3 separate regions of the Homo sapiens genome follow, and regions 2 and 3 are each linked to region 1. Evidence: promoter capture Hi-C in 16 types of primary human blood cells and fetal thymus (Javierre and others, 2016). All regions are on one chromosome and are shown on one strand. The core of a region is centred on a gene start or on the middle of the fragment in contact, and the rest is flanking DNA. Distances in the headings are between cores, read along the strand shown. Region 1 holds the start of WBP4 (WW domain binding protein 4). Region 2 holds the start of MTRF1 (mitochondrial translation release factor 1). Region 3 holds the start of KBTBD7 (kelch repeat and BTB domain containing 7).

What was found. Contacts are between HindIII fragments. The CHiCAGO score rates a contact against its expected background, and 5 or more counts as called.
Region 2: a contact is called between the fragment with the promoter of MTRF1 here and the fragment with the promoter of WBP4 in region 1, in 1 of 17 cell types (naive B cells). The highest score is 5.3, in naive B cells.
Region 3: a contact is called between the fragment with the promoter of KBTBD7 here and the fragment with the promoter of WBP4 in region 1, in 16 of 17 cell types (neutrophils, non-activated CD4 T cells, erythroblasts and 13 more). The highest score is 12.4, in neutrophils.

Annotation. Positions count from the first base shown.
Region 1 is chr13:41,059,285-41,063,406 of GRCh38, forward strand. WBP4 (WW domain binding protein 4) reads left to right here and starts at 2,225. Exons shown (of 10, transcript NM_007187.5): 1 at 2,225-2,391; 2 at 3,360-3,432. The coding sequence starts at 2,390. TRE-TTC1-2 (tRNA-Glu (anticodon TTC) 1-2) reads right to left here and starts at 1,525; the gene lies at 1,454-1,525. It also overlaps a transcript of ELF1 not described here. RefSeq lists a silencer at 840-1,019. The HindIII fragment of the contact is 8,920 bases long and covers 1-4,122 here.
Region 2 is chr13:41,261,571-41,265,692 of GRCh38, forward strand. It overlaps MTRF1 (mitochondrial translation release factor 1), which reads right to left and starts at 2,006. Exons shown (of 10, transcript NM_004294.4): 1 at 1,915-2,006. RefSeq lists an enhancer at 1,424-1,924 and a silencer at 2,212-2,301. The HindIII fragment of the contact is 4,724 bases long and covers 1-3,541 here.
Region 3 is chr13:41,192,132-41,196,253 of GRCh38, forward strand. KBTBD7 (kelch repeat and BTB domain containing 7) reads right to left here and starts at 2,438. Exons shown (of 1, transcript NM_032138.7): 1 at 1-2,438. The coding sequence starts at 2,126. The coding sequence ends at 72. The region is part of intron 3 of KBTBD6-DT (KBTBD6 divergent transcript); the gene reads left to right. RefSeq lists enhancers at 1,180-1,887, 1,888-2,594, 1,939-2,208, 2,519-2,608. The HindIII fragment of the contact is 3,616 bases long and covers 1,564-4,122 here.

The DNA of each region.
Region 1 (4,122 bases), core at 975-3,474:
CAAAATATTATTCCATTCAGTATTCTATCCACTAGCTAACATAAAGAATACAAACATCAGTAACTTCAAAAGCATGTGGTGGTGCTTGGTGTGTAGCAAACACACAAATATTTGAATTAATGAAGACGATTTAAAATACTTAGGCTTTTTCTTTCTTTTTAACAAGGTAAGCCTAATTAATCCTTAATCACGCAGATCACATTAACAAATTTACTGTGCAGTTAAAGCTACAAAATAGTCTGGGAACACACATACTAACAACCAAAACATCTGCTTTCAGTAATGGCACTGACCAGAAACCCATCTACAAGAGTCACTTTTTCCTTCTTCGTTTGTTCCCAGAGGCCCAATAAACATTATAGCCGACCCTATTTTCTAATTTCAGCTTGCATTTAAGATAACGCTTTTGTTTCATTTACAGCTCACATGCTGCTGACACAGCTGTCCCTTCTTTGTAATAAACACAGGGCTTCTATATTTAAAAATACAGTGAAACTTTGTTTTAACGTCCCCTCCCCAGTCTCCAGCCAATTTTCTCTTTCCCAAGCCCCACCTCCACCCCAGGATGTTTTGCCGTTGTTTTAATCAATTTTTTTCTTTAAATCAACCGCGCTCAAAATGTTAGACCCTTTGGAAAGTCGATATACTTATTTAAAGCCATCTCATCAGAGTGGTATTTTTCTCCTCCATAGCTCGTGGTGTGTATTTTTAAAGGGAAAGAAAAAAGATTCTCGTTCCCAAAGGCCTTTTTTCGAGGGTACTTTCCGTGACTGCGACCAGCGCCCCTTAAGTCAAGTTGGGAAGACCTCGCAGGCCGGCCTCGCGCTTGCTCAGGCGCCGCGGGTGGAGACGCGAGCGCACACGCGGCGGAAAGGGGCGCCGGGCGGCTGCGCGGCCGGGAAAGCGCGTCCCCCCGGGAGGGCGCGGAAGGCACACTGTGTTCCGTGGGGCCTCGTAAATACCCTGCGGCCAGAGAACCACTAGAGCTACTGGTCCGGGCGCGGGCTCTGGGGCGCCCAGGGCAGGGGGGTCAGCCCGTCCTGCATAGGAAGAGTCGCAAGAGCGGCTGAAGAGGGTGTGGGCCGGACGGGGGCGCTGGGAGGAGATAACGCAAGGCCGGAGTTAATCATCACCTCCCGGGCGTCTGGAAAACTACGGGCCGGAGGGGCGGGGGAGCAGCCCAGGGGAAAGTGAAACTCCCTCAGGGCCCACCAGCCCCGTGAGCCGGAGGCGGGAGGGAGAAGGATCGGAAGCGCATTCGCTTCTCCAGCAGGCACGGCGTGGCACTCGAGGCTCCAAAAGCCGCAGCCCAGCTCCTGGCGCCACTAACTACAGTAATGCTTATTTTCTACAAACTCACCCAGACGGGGACAAGAAAGGAGCCAGAACACAAGATTTAAAAAGTCAGCCCTCCAAACCGATAGTTGCAAAAAAAAAGAAAAATAAGGAAGCGTTCCCATACCGGGAGTCGAACCCGGGCCACCTGGGTGAAAACCAGGAATCCTAACCGCTAGACCATATGGGAAGTGCTATGAGAAACTGCCGTGACCCACCTGACAAGCATAAGTGCCTCTGCCTCCTTCGCCGCACCTCTCGCCACCGCCGCCTCTGCGCTACTGAAGCTGCTGCTGCCGCCGCCGCCGCCGCCGCCGCCGCCGCCGCTGCTGCTGCCCACACGCTCCCGAGCTAGGGAACAAGCCCCATCCGAGCGCGTGGGCGTCGTAGGGGAGAGGAGGGGCGGGGCCGCTCCGCTGCAACAGCAAAGTTTGAGGCGAAGCCTAGCGACTCGCAGCGCCGGTCCCGCAGTTTCACCTCTTTTTTTTTTAACTCCGCCAGAGGACCCCGACCCACAGGTCCCGGTTGCTCCGCTGGTCAAAGTGCGTGCGGAGTAGTTGGCAAAGTTGAGAGCGGAGACGTCTCTGGGAACAGCTGTTTGCGTTCCGGGCGGAGGCGGCGCGCTGAGCTCCTTGGCCTTGAGCCAGCGAGCCTAGAAGGAGGATGGAGGTTTTGGGCCCCAGGGGAGGACACAGAGACGGCGGGATGGCGCAGGGACTTGAGGCTTGAGATCCCGTCCTTCAGCTCAGGTCCCGTCGCGCTTTTACCCCTTCCCGGTGACCTCAACCCCTTTATACCGACCCCACCTCTTTGGAGCCGGGAGTACCGCCCCTGTAGGGGGAGGGGAGAGGAGGCGATTTCGAACGCGGATTGGATCGTCTGGGCACCCGTAGTTGGGAACAGCGGAACGCTGGTCCCGGGGACTGAGTAAGGTGTCTGGATCGGAGGGAGGTTCGGGTGGGCATCGGGCGGCTGGAAGAGCTCGACTCGTCCCGCTGGGAAAGCGCGAGTCTGAGTGGAACCCTGGACGACTTGCAGAGCGGCTGGCGCAGTCATGTGAGTTGGGTCTCAGGCCCTGAACAACGAGGTGTTGTTTCTCTGGGCCGCCCTTTCTCGCCCGGGTCTTCCCCTCCTCTCCTCCCGCCCTTCGGCCGGGGGCGTGACAGACGCGTTCTTAACTCGCTCGGGACCGGCCCCAGACCTGCAGGGCCGGTTCTCAGGGCGGGGTAGAAATGTTACCCCGCTGAACGCCCTGGGGTATGGGGCACGGGCTCTAGGGGGAGGCCGGCGGCCGGTTCAGGGGGCTGGTTGGACGGCCGCGGGTGAAGCGACGCAGTGCTCTCTCTACGACGCTGTCGGGGGTCGCATGCACCCCTTGGGTTTCCGAAGCCCCTGAACCCTAGGGTATTGTGAAACTAGGGCTGGGCTGCGGCCTCCCCCGCCCACTGGAAGCGGCCAGCCCTGGATAGCGTAATGGTTTTTTTTTTTTTTTTTTTTTTTTTTTTGTCGGCCGTCTACGAAGTCCCATGGCTTTTCCAGTTCTCTCTTGCCTTGAGGCTCAAGAACAGTTTGTTTTAACTGAGAGTCTGGGAGGAACTACAGTTTTCCCCAGAGTAGTCTTGTACGTTGTTCTCTTGGTGGGAATAACTTGATTTAAGGCAAACTTTATGAGTTTCTTCAGGTTTCCATTACAGCAACCTCCCCCAAAGCCAGAAAGGATAAATGTTCTTCTAAGATGTTCCTTAGTTTTTCATAACGATGACGATAACAAGTGAGGAATTTTTGAAAGCCATTTTATTGAAGGGAGTTTTGTAATGAATCAGATACAGACTTTTTCTACTCCGCTGGCAACAGAATTTCAATTGACTGTGCTCCAACCAGATAAATAATAAAACGACTATACATAACAAGACAAGATTCAGTAGCAGGGGCATATATTTCAAACTTTAAAAACTGTAAAGCATGCAGAATTTAACCTTTTTTAAGTTTTACATGAGCTTAGCCTTGTTGTCTCTCTTTTTCAGGGCGGACTACTGGAAGTCACAGCCAAAGAAATTCTGTGATTACTGCAAGTGCTGGATAGCAGACAATAGGCCTGTATGATAATTCCGCTGTTAGAGATTCTAATAATAATTGTGTTGAATGAAGTGCTCCTTTTTGATGTAAACTCAGTTTACAAAGCACTTTTATGTACATTGCTCTTGCATTTTCAAAACATCAGAAGATTTCTGTCTTCTCAGTCCCCTATGAAAGCTGTGAGCCTTCTTCCTTTTCATCAACCTGACTTTGATTATATATTAAATTATTTCTCTGTGGCCTTTTGGGAAATGGGCAATGAGTTGGTCATATCATTCATGTTATGAAGCACCTATATTATAATGGTGGTGTTCATAATACTGTCATACCCAAAGAATTGTGGAAAGCCCTTAAAAAATAAAAGCAACATGTTTAGTTTTTCTTGTATATTTTGTGGTCTAGAAATAATCAAGTGTATTTAATGCAGAGCTGTGTATCTTTAGATGCTTAAATTTGAAAGAACACCATTATTTCCTTTCTCATGAAACAAAGTAACAACTCTGTTAGGTATGTTGTTAGTCTGTCTCATAGTTGAGATCCAGTTTTGAAGATGTAAAGCAAAAAGCACACCGCTGATTTTTCTCCCCTCTTGCATGTCAAAATACTATGTACATACCACATAAACACTAGGGTATCTGTTAAATATATTTTATGTTGATACCGTTTTTACTTGGCAAAGTTGGATGCACAAAGAATAGTAGTCTCATATTT
Region 2 (4,122 bases), core at 756-3,255, 200 kb after region 1:
ATGAAAACATACAAACTTAAGGCGGTTCATAAAGTCATTTTCTAAAGTTTGAAGAAAATATTATTATCTTGTATAATTCTTTAACTTTAAGGATCTAGATATCCAAGGAAGTCAAGTAACTTAATCACGACTATTCAGTCGGCTGGATGGAGACAGAGCTGGTATTAGAATGTAAGTTGCCTGTTCAGGACTCAGTAATTTTCACTCTCAATTGTGCAATCACTTTTCAAAAATGCTTCCCGTTTAGCTGAGATCCTAAAGGAAGAAAAGTTCAAGTATTAATAGACCAAGAAAGTAGGGCTGGTGAAAAGCTCTACAGTTATATTAAATGGTGACAATTATATTAAGCAAGAAAGGCAAGGAACAAAATAGAATCTCAATTACATTTAAAAAATATTCTACAATATAAGGTATACATGTAAAAAAAAAAAAGCACATAGAGTATTTTTTAAAAAGAAAGTTAAATAAGAAACATACCAAAATGTGCCGAGCACAGTGGCTCACGCCTGTAATCCTACCACTTTGGGAGGCCGAGGCGGGCAGATCATCTGAGGTCAGGAGTTCGAGACCAGCCTGGCCAACATGGGAAAACCCCATCTCTACTAAAAATACCAAAAAAATTAGCTGAGCGTGATGGCACACACCTGTAGTCCTAGCTGCTCGGGAAGCTGAGGCAGGATAATCGCTTGAACCTGGGAGGCGAAGGTTGCAGTGAACTGAGATCGCACCACTGCAACCAGCGTGGGCGACAAAGCAACACGCTGTCTCAAAAAAAAAAAAAAAAAAAGAAACATACCAAAATGTTAATAAAATGATCTCTAGTTGTGAGATTATGAATACCTTTTGCTTGCTATTTTTTCTACTTTTCAGTGTTTTCCAAGTTTCTTGCACATGTAGCATGGAATACTTTCCTAATCATAAAAAAAGATTAGTTTAAAAAATTACAGGTTAGGTGAAATTGGCTGTGTACAATAATTTTCTGTTCTCCTCCCCTCCAACAGAGATAATCAAGAGCTAACAAAAGTACACAATGGTCTTACTGAGTAAGAAAGGGAGAATATAAAGTGTTCTAAGAAAACTCTAAGGTTCAAAGTTGAAATAAGGGTCAAGCCACGCACAGTAGCATGCACCTATTGTCCCAGCTACCCAGGAGACTGAGGCAGGAGGATCACTTGAGCCAAGGAGTTCAAGGCCAGCCTGGGCAACACAGTGAGACTCAACTCAAAAAAAGAAGGATCAACATTTATCAAAATCAAACTTTACTGTCTCCAGTGATCCTACTATGCTAGGAGGTGCATTGATATATTAGCTCATTTGTTCACTATAAGTCTGTTAACTTAGCATTATCACCTAGGAAATAAAATAGTCAGAATGGTCTTTAAAATATTCAGTTTCCAGAGTTCTACTGATAGATTTTAGGATACTGCATCACATTATTAAAAGAACTGTTGAAGAAAGCACCAATGGCCAGCTGTCACAAACGTTACACTCCACCACCCCCGTATTTCAAGCACGTTAGAGAAAGTGTATCCATTTGCTAACAGACAGAATAAAAGGATGACAAATATATGTTTGTACGAATACTTATTGCTAAAATTTCCATTTTAGGAACAGTAGTAGAATGCATAATTTTCAAGGTCATGAATCTCAACATTAAGGAAAACAAAACAAAACAAGATGTTTACTCTCCAAGGTTAACTACACCTGAGAACAGCACGACTTCTCCATTACCCATCACAGTAACAGTATTACTCTGATGCTTTGGGGAAAGTTCTGAGTGTAGGCAGGTCAGAAGCGACAGCCCGCGGGGCAGCAGCACGGGCAAACCATGCTGTGTAACTCAGTATATGGAGTGATTCCATAAAGAGGCAATACAGGAGGCGGCGGGGAAGATCAGGAAAGAACTGTGAGTACCTAAGAAAAAGAAGAATACACGTTAGCTCTCTTTACTGAGGTCGGAACCTTCCGAGACCCGCCACATTTCAGCCCGACAAACCCGAGATCACGTTCACTTCCTGGTTCACTTCTTCCGGGTTAACGCACGCTCCCGGCCCCTCCTCCGCCACTACCGCTCTCCGGAGGAGTTGTCCTCGAGCATGCCTAACAATGGACTAAAATGACAAAAATGAGCTAAATGAGAAAAATGACAAAACGAGAATGAAATTGTCATCAGACAACCGCCCCCGCGCCGTCCTTATCCAGAGCGTGAGCCCAGAGCGGGGATGGAGATGGTGGGAGGGAGGGAGGGAGGGAGGGGCCAAGGTGGGACTAAACTACAACTCCCAGAGCGCCCACCAAAGAATCCTGGGAGTTGTAGTTTACCTTGCGGCAGCCTCCAACCCCCTCCACTCACTATCCAGCCAAATGTGGAGTTTTTGGTTTTCACCGTTAACTGCAAACCTAGAAGAGAGATTCTTTACGATTCTGATTAAGAGATCAAGATTTAGAACACATTGCATGTGAAATTACAATAATTTCCTTATGTATTAGAAGCCCGTAAAGCACTGTTTTCCAATATTTAAAAAAAATAAAGACTCCTTTTACATCATCCACAAATGTAGAAGATTCTGCGTGTAATTTCTATACTTTCAGCTTCCATTGCTTCAGAAAATACCTAATGACTAAAGGATAATACAAATAAATTTATATTTTAAAAGTAGTAACAGCCCCAAAAGTTAGGAGACCGTGTATTTCCACATGTTAGTGATTTTATAATGTTCTTTGCACATGGGAATGTAGGGGCTCAACCTAGATTCATAGCTTATGAACCACTGATTAAGTGAAGAATGAAAACTCCAGTTAATAAACAATTGCAGGAAAATGCAAGCATATTGTCCTACTTTGACTAATCCAGTGGGATCCAGCCCTTGGCTATCGCAATTTACAGTCTTTCTATCTCCATGCCTCAATTTTTCTTCCTGAAAGAAAAGGCAAAAAATGTACCATATTACTGACTTTACAGAGTATTTTCTTAGATTATAATCACATACATAGATAGGAGAATTAGCTATATATGCAAAATAATATCTAACGTTTATAGCCAACTTCAAGGTACCTACTTCTATGTACTATGTACTAAATACTGTTCTAAATGGTTTTACCCTATTAATTCATTTAATTTTTACAACCTTAAAATACTTATTTTGCAGAGGAGAAAATTAAGGCACACAGAGCTAAAGTAACTACTCCAAGGTAAAAAACAGTAAGTGATAGAGCCAAGACTCAATTAAGGCAATGGCTTTAATGATCTGTGGCTCCTAAGCTCTGATATAGGGCCACCCTGCTCCAAAAAAGAAAAAACCTTCAATCATGTATTCAATAAATAGTGAACACCAGTTATGTGCTATTCACTATTCTAGTCATGAGGATTTAGCAATGAACAGAAAAGACAAAAACCTTTGCCCACATGGAGCTTATGTTCCAGTAGGGGAAAAGTTTCAAAGGGTCTACATAAAGTCATTCTCCTAAGTTATCCAAAAAGTTCTTTAATTATTTATTCTGATTTGTGCTTTCAGCTATATAACTTGAGTATTATATATAAAGCTTTATTCTCCTTAAAAAATTAGTCTTAGTCGGGCGTGGTGGTTCACGCCTGTAATCCTAGCACTTTGGGAGGCCGAGCCAGGTGGATCACCTGAGGTCAGGAGTTCGAAACCAGCCTGACCAACATGGAGAAACCCCATCTCTACTAAAAATACAAAATTAGCTGGGCGTGGTGGCTCATGCTTGTAATCCTAGCTACTCGGAGGCTGAGGCAGGAGAATCGCTTGAACCCAGGAGACAGAGGTGGCAGTGAGCCAAGATTGCACCATTGCACTCCAGCCTGGGCAACAAGAGTGAAACTCCGTCTCAAAAAAAAAAAAAAGTAGTCTTACTGCTATGGACTGAATTGTTTATATTCATAATCATGTGCATATTACTAATATTTATTTTTAAAATTCATATATTGAAGCCCTAACCCCTCCAATACATGTGTCTGTATTGGAGATAGGGCCTTTAAGGTGATTAAGGTCAGATGAGGTCGTAAGAGTAGAGCCCTGACATAATAGGATTAGTGCCTTTCTAAAAAGGCACCAGAGATCTTGCTCACTGTCCCTGCCCAAACAAAGAAGAGGTTACGTG
Region 3 (4,122 bases), core at 1,188-3,687, 130 kb after region 1:
GAAAAAGAAACGATATGTGTTTAAAATACATTCCGTAGCAGTAGAAACATCTTAGTGTCTCAAAATACTATTTACAAAGAACCCTGCTGATCCTGTGCATTTCGCTGAGGTGCTACTTGCACCCAGACTTCATCATCTGAAAAAGAACTTGAACTTCCTGACTCAGAGTCCAGCTCACTGAATCCATCTAAGTCCCATTCAGTACTAGACTCACTCCGTGCATCATCTTCCTCAGTAATAAAACTCTGACCAGGTTCAAGGCAGGAAGGATAAACACGAGCACAAAGGCAAATAAAGCCAGAGTCAAACTGCAAAAGGCCTAACATGGTACCTATATTAATCCACTGATCTTCCCTAGTATCATACTCATACACTGTCACTCGGTTCTTTTTCCATTGTGGGGTTGTAGAAGTGATGAGAAGCAACTTTTGGTCATGATTGACAATCTGGTAGTTGTGGGTCTCTGAATCCAAAGGAATATTACTAATCCGCCTCCATTCTCCCCTAGCTGGGTTGTAGACCTTCATGACTGGGATGTCACAGATACAATAGATTTCATCATTGAAGACACATGCTTCCTGAAAGTCACTACGTTTAAGAGAAGCACAGTTCAGCCACATATTGTGGCTAGGATCATAGCAAAGCATGCGCTTACTGTTGACAGCATAAAGATAGTTCTGAACCACTATGAGTTCAAAGGAATAGAAGGAATGAGGGACAGGAGCCACCAATGCCCACTGGTTTCTCTGAACACTGTAGCATTCCACTTCCTTCAACTTAACTCCAGTAATAGGGTCTCGTCCCCCCAAAATGTAGATGTAGCCATTGAGATATGCCACATCCATGCCCTCACGACACAGCAAGCGATCTGCAAGTTGCTGCCAACTATTCTGAGCTGGTTTATACACCCAGAGGTCTTTCCTGGGCTGAGCAGCTAGATAGATGTCATGGTCTGGGGACACACAGACAGCTGAGGAGGTGACAGTCTTAGTGTGAGCAAAGCTGGTCAAAGGGGATGGCATTGTGTAAATGTCCCCCGAGTAAGGGTCATAGCAGAGAAAGGGATCTCTAGGATGTCCAAAGAAGATCACCATCTCCTTGGCACACATACCCAGTCTCTGGGGTGGATTTTCTGCTGCAGATACAAGAGAGTTGCTGCTGCTACTGCTGCTGCTGCTGTTTGGCACTGGCACCAGAGACTTGTACAACAGGTCACCATAGCGCATCTGCAGGGCCCCTTCAATAACGTCCAGGCAGTACTTCTTCACGATGGGCTTGGTCAGCAGCCCTTCTAAGTAGTCCTGATCTTCTTCAGTGAAGTGCATCCAGCGCACGCACTTGAAGACTTCTGCAGCACTGGGACCCCGCTCTTTGGCAGCAGCCTCCAGCCACTGCACAGCTACATGGCATACAGTCCGCTCACTCTCTATGTCCAGACTATCCAGGCGTAGGACAGCCAGCAGCTGGGCCAGGGTTAGATCTGCTAGAGTCTCCTCCCGAATTGAACCCATTCGGCTGAGCTGCTTGAAGTTGTGAGCTATGTAGGACTGGGCCTGAGATCGAAGCTTGTGATGGTCGAAGGCGTCTGCAAACTTGAGGATGGCGGTGCAGTTGGTCAGGTCAAGACGTCGGGCTAAGAAGGAGGCACAGGCTTCCCGCACATATTCCAGCTGTAGCATGTCGGAGGCCGCGTACAGGCGCTGCACATTGGCCTCACTGAGAGACACACGACCCGTGTAGCAGTAGTCGACCAACACCTCGAAGGACTCGGCGTCCACATCGTGCATGGTCACGCTGGCCTGCTGGCTCTCGTACATGCCACCTGTGAACATGCTCTTGAAGTAGGGACACGCAGCTGCTAGCACGTTGCGATTGCAGGAAAAGAGGCGACCCGTGCCAGGCCCGCTGCCAGGCGTCACCACCTCGATGGTCACATCACACAGCAGCCGCGCGTCGTAGAAGGACTTGAGCTGTGCCAGCAGGGCTGCAGAATGGGCCGTGTCCTTTAACTCCTCTGGACCCGTGAAAAAGGCCGAAACCGAGGGCTTGGAAATCCTCTTGGGCCGCCTCCCACCACGGGGACTGGCGAGGCGGCGAGAGCGCGGGACGTCTTCCCGGGACTGCATGGTGGAGATGGCGACGGGCGCTGACGGCGAGAAAGGCTGCAGGACCAGGCTCTGGCTCCTCCTCAACCTTCCCTCGCTGACGCTAAGACAAGCCGCGTCCTGGAACAGACTGCGGCACGGGCCGCACTTCTGAATTCAGCCCTATCCCGCGGTGAGGCCTCCCTTTATTGCATAGACAGTGGCTGACTCACCCTCTCTCACTCCCGCGCCCTTTCTCCGCCTCCGCTCGCCCTCACAGGACCCGCTGGCTTGCAGCCGCGGAAGCCCCCACTGCCGCGCTGGCGATCCCGCTAGGCGCCCGGGAGAACTACTGCTCCCAGGTTGCCTTTCGCGCCCCGAGGCCTGCTGGGGCTCTCGGACGGCCGGGCGGGGACAGAGGGAAAGAAACCGCTTTGCATGTTGGGAGTAGTAGTTTGTGTAATATCGCGAGCTGTCCTTTAGTTGACTGCTCTAACAGTAGAAATTAATTCTCCTGGATTTGATGGTGAAGAGACTGTTGCCCAGGCTGGTCTTGAACTCCTGAGGGCTCAAATTATCCTCCTGCCTCGGCCTCTCAATGTGCTGGGATTACAGGCGTGAGCCACCGCCCCCTGCCAGTATTTCATAGGGTTTTGTGTGGTTCAATGATACCTTACATGGGATACTTAGATACATGTATGTTTTTGGTTAGAAGAATAGTAAAGCGTTACCCCGTGCCTAGAATGTAGCCAATAACTGTTAGATTCTCTTTTATAATTTATGATAAATGAGGCACCCACTAATTTGAAACCGAGTATTATTTTAAACCGCAAAATTTTACAAAGAATTTCTAGTTTTTAATGTTTATTCCTTCGAAAGATTTTGAAGGGCATTAACAATATTTTCAATATTAAATGATATCTATTGGTCTCGTTTAATAAGGATGTCTTAGACGACTAGGTTGAGGTCCTAAAGAACAGTATTAATAGATGGTCTCAAATACGCAAATCCAGCATATAAAAATAAATTATTTGCTGCTCTCACTAACATTTCATCTCTGGAGAGCAGGAGTATTTTCGTTAAGCTCCAAATATGAGTGTTTTCAAGTCGTCTAATACAGCCTCTTTCACTGCCGTTCCACAAATCAATTAACAGATTATGTAATTCCCTTTATTAAGGAGTTTTAGGGAGTATTTTAACTCAAAATATTTCAACAAACAGACTTTGTTCTGTACAAAAGCACATGATTCTCAGAATTCAACATCAGTACATGCCCTGACATTCCTTGAATTAATATATAGTATAGTCTATGCTTTACAAAGTCTTTTATATTTGCATTGGGATCAACAGTTAAATCATCAAAATCAAGTATTAGAGATTTGAGGCAGGAAAATAGGGTCTGGAGGCAGGGAACATAAGGCTGATTCACACTTTAGCTATAACAGGAAAGATCCTCTCCATAGGGTGTATGCTGAGTAAATGAGTTTGTAACTTTACTTCATTCTCTTCATTTACATAGGGTGTACACCAAGTAACCAGTGGAATCCTCTAGAGGGTATTTAAACCTTCAGAAATTCTGTAACAGGGCCCTTGAGCCCCTATGCTCAGGCCCGCTCCCCACTGTGGAGTGTACTTTCATTTTCAGTAAATCTCTGCTTTTGTTGTTTCATTGTTTCCTTGCTTTGTTTATGTGTTTTGTCCAATTTTTTGTCCAAAACGCCAAGAACCTGGACACCCTCCACCAGTAACAGACTTTTTCAGATAACTTTTATTACAAAACCATGACTGCTCCTGCTGCTAGTTTGTTATGTTACCATAACCTAATAAAGAAAATCATCAGTGTTACATGCATGTATGGATAACACATTACAAGAGAATAACTTTCAAATTGTTTTTCTCTTATCAGCTGAAGATAACTTCAACTTATCAGCTGAAGTCCACTGGAAATACTCTAGGGTAGACACATTAAATTAAGTCAGCCTCTGGGCTCTAATAACTCCTCTGTAAATAAAAAGAGATGTTAGATATCCCTCAGATA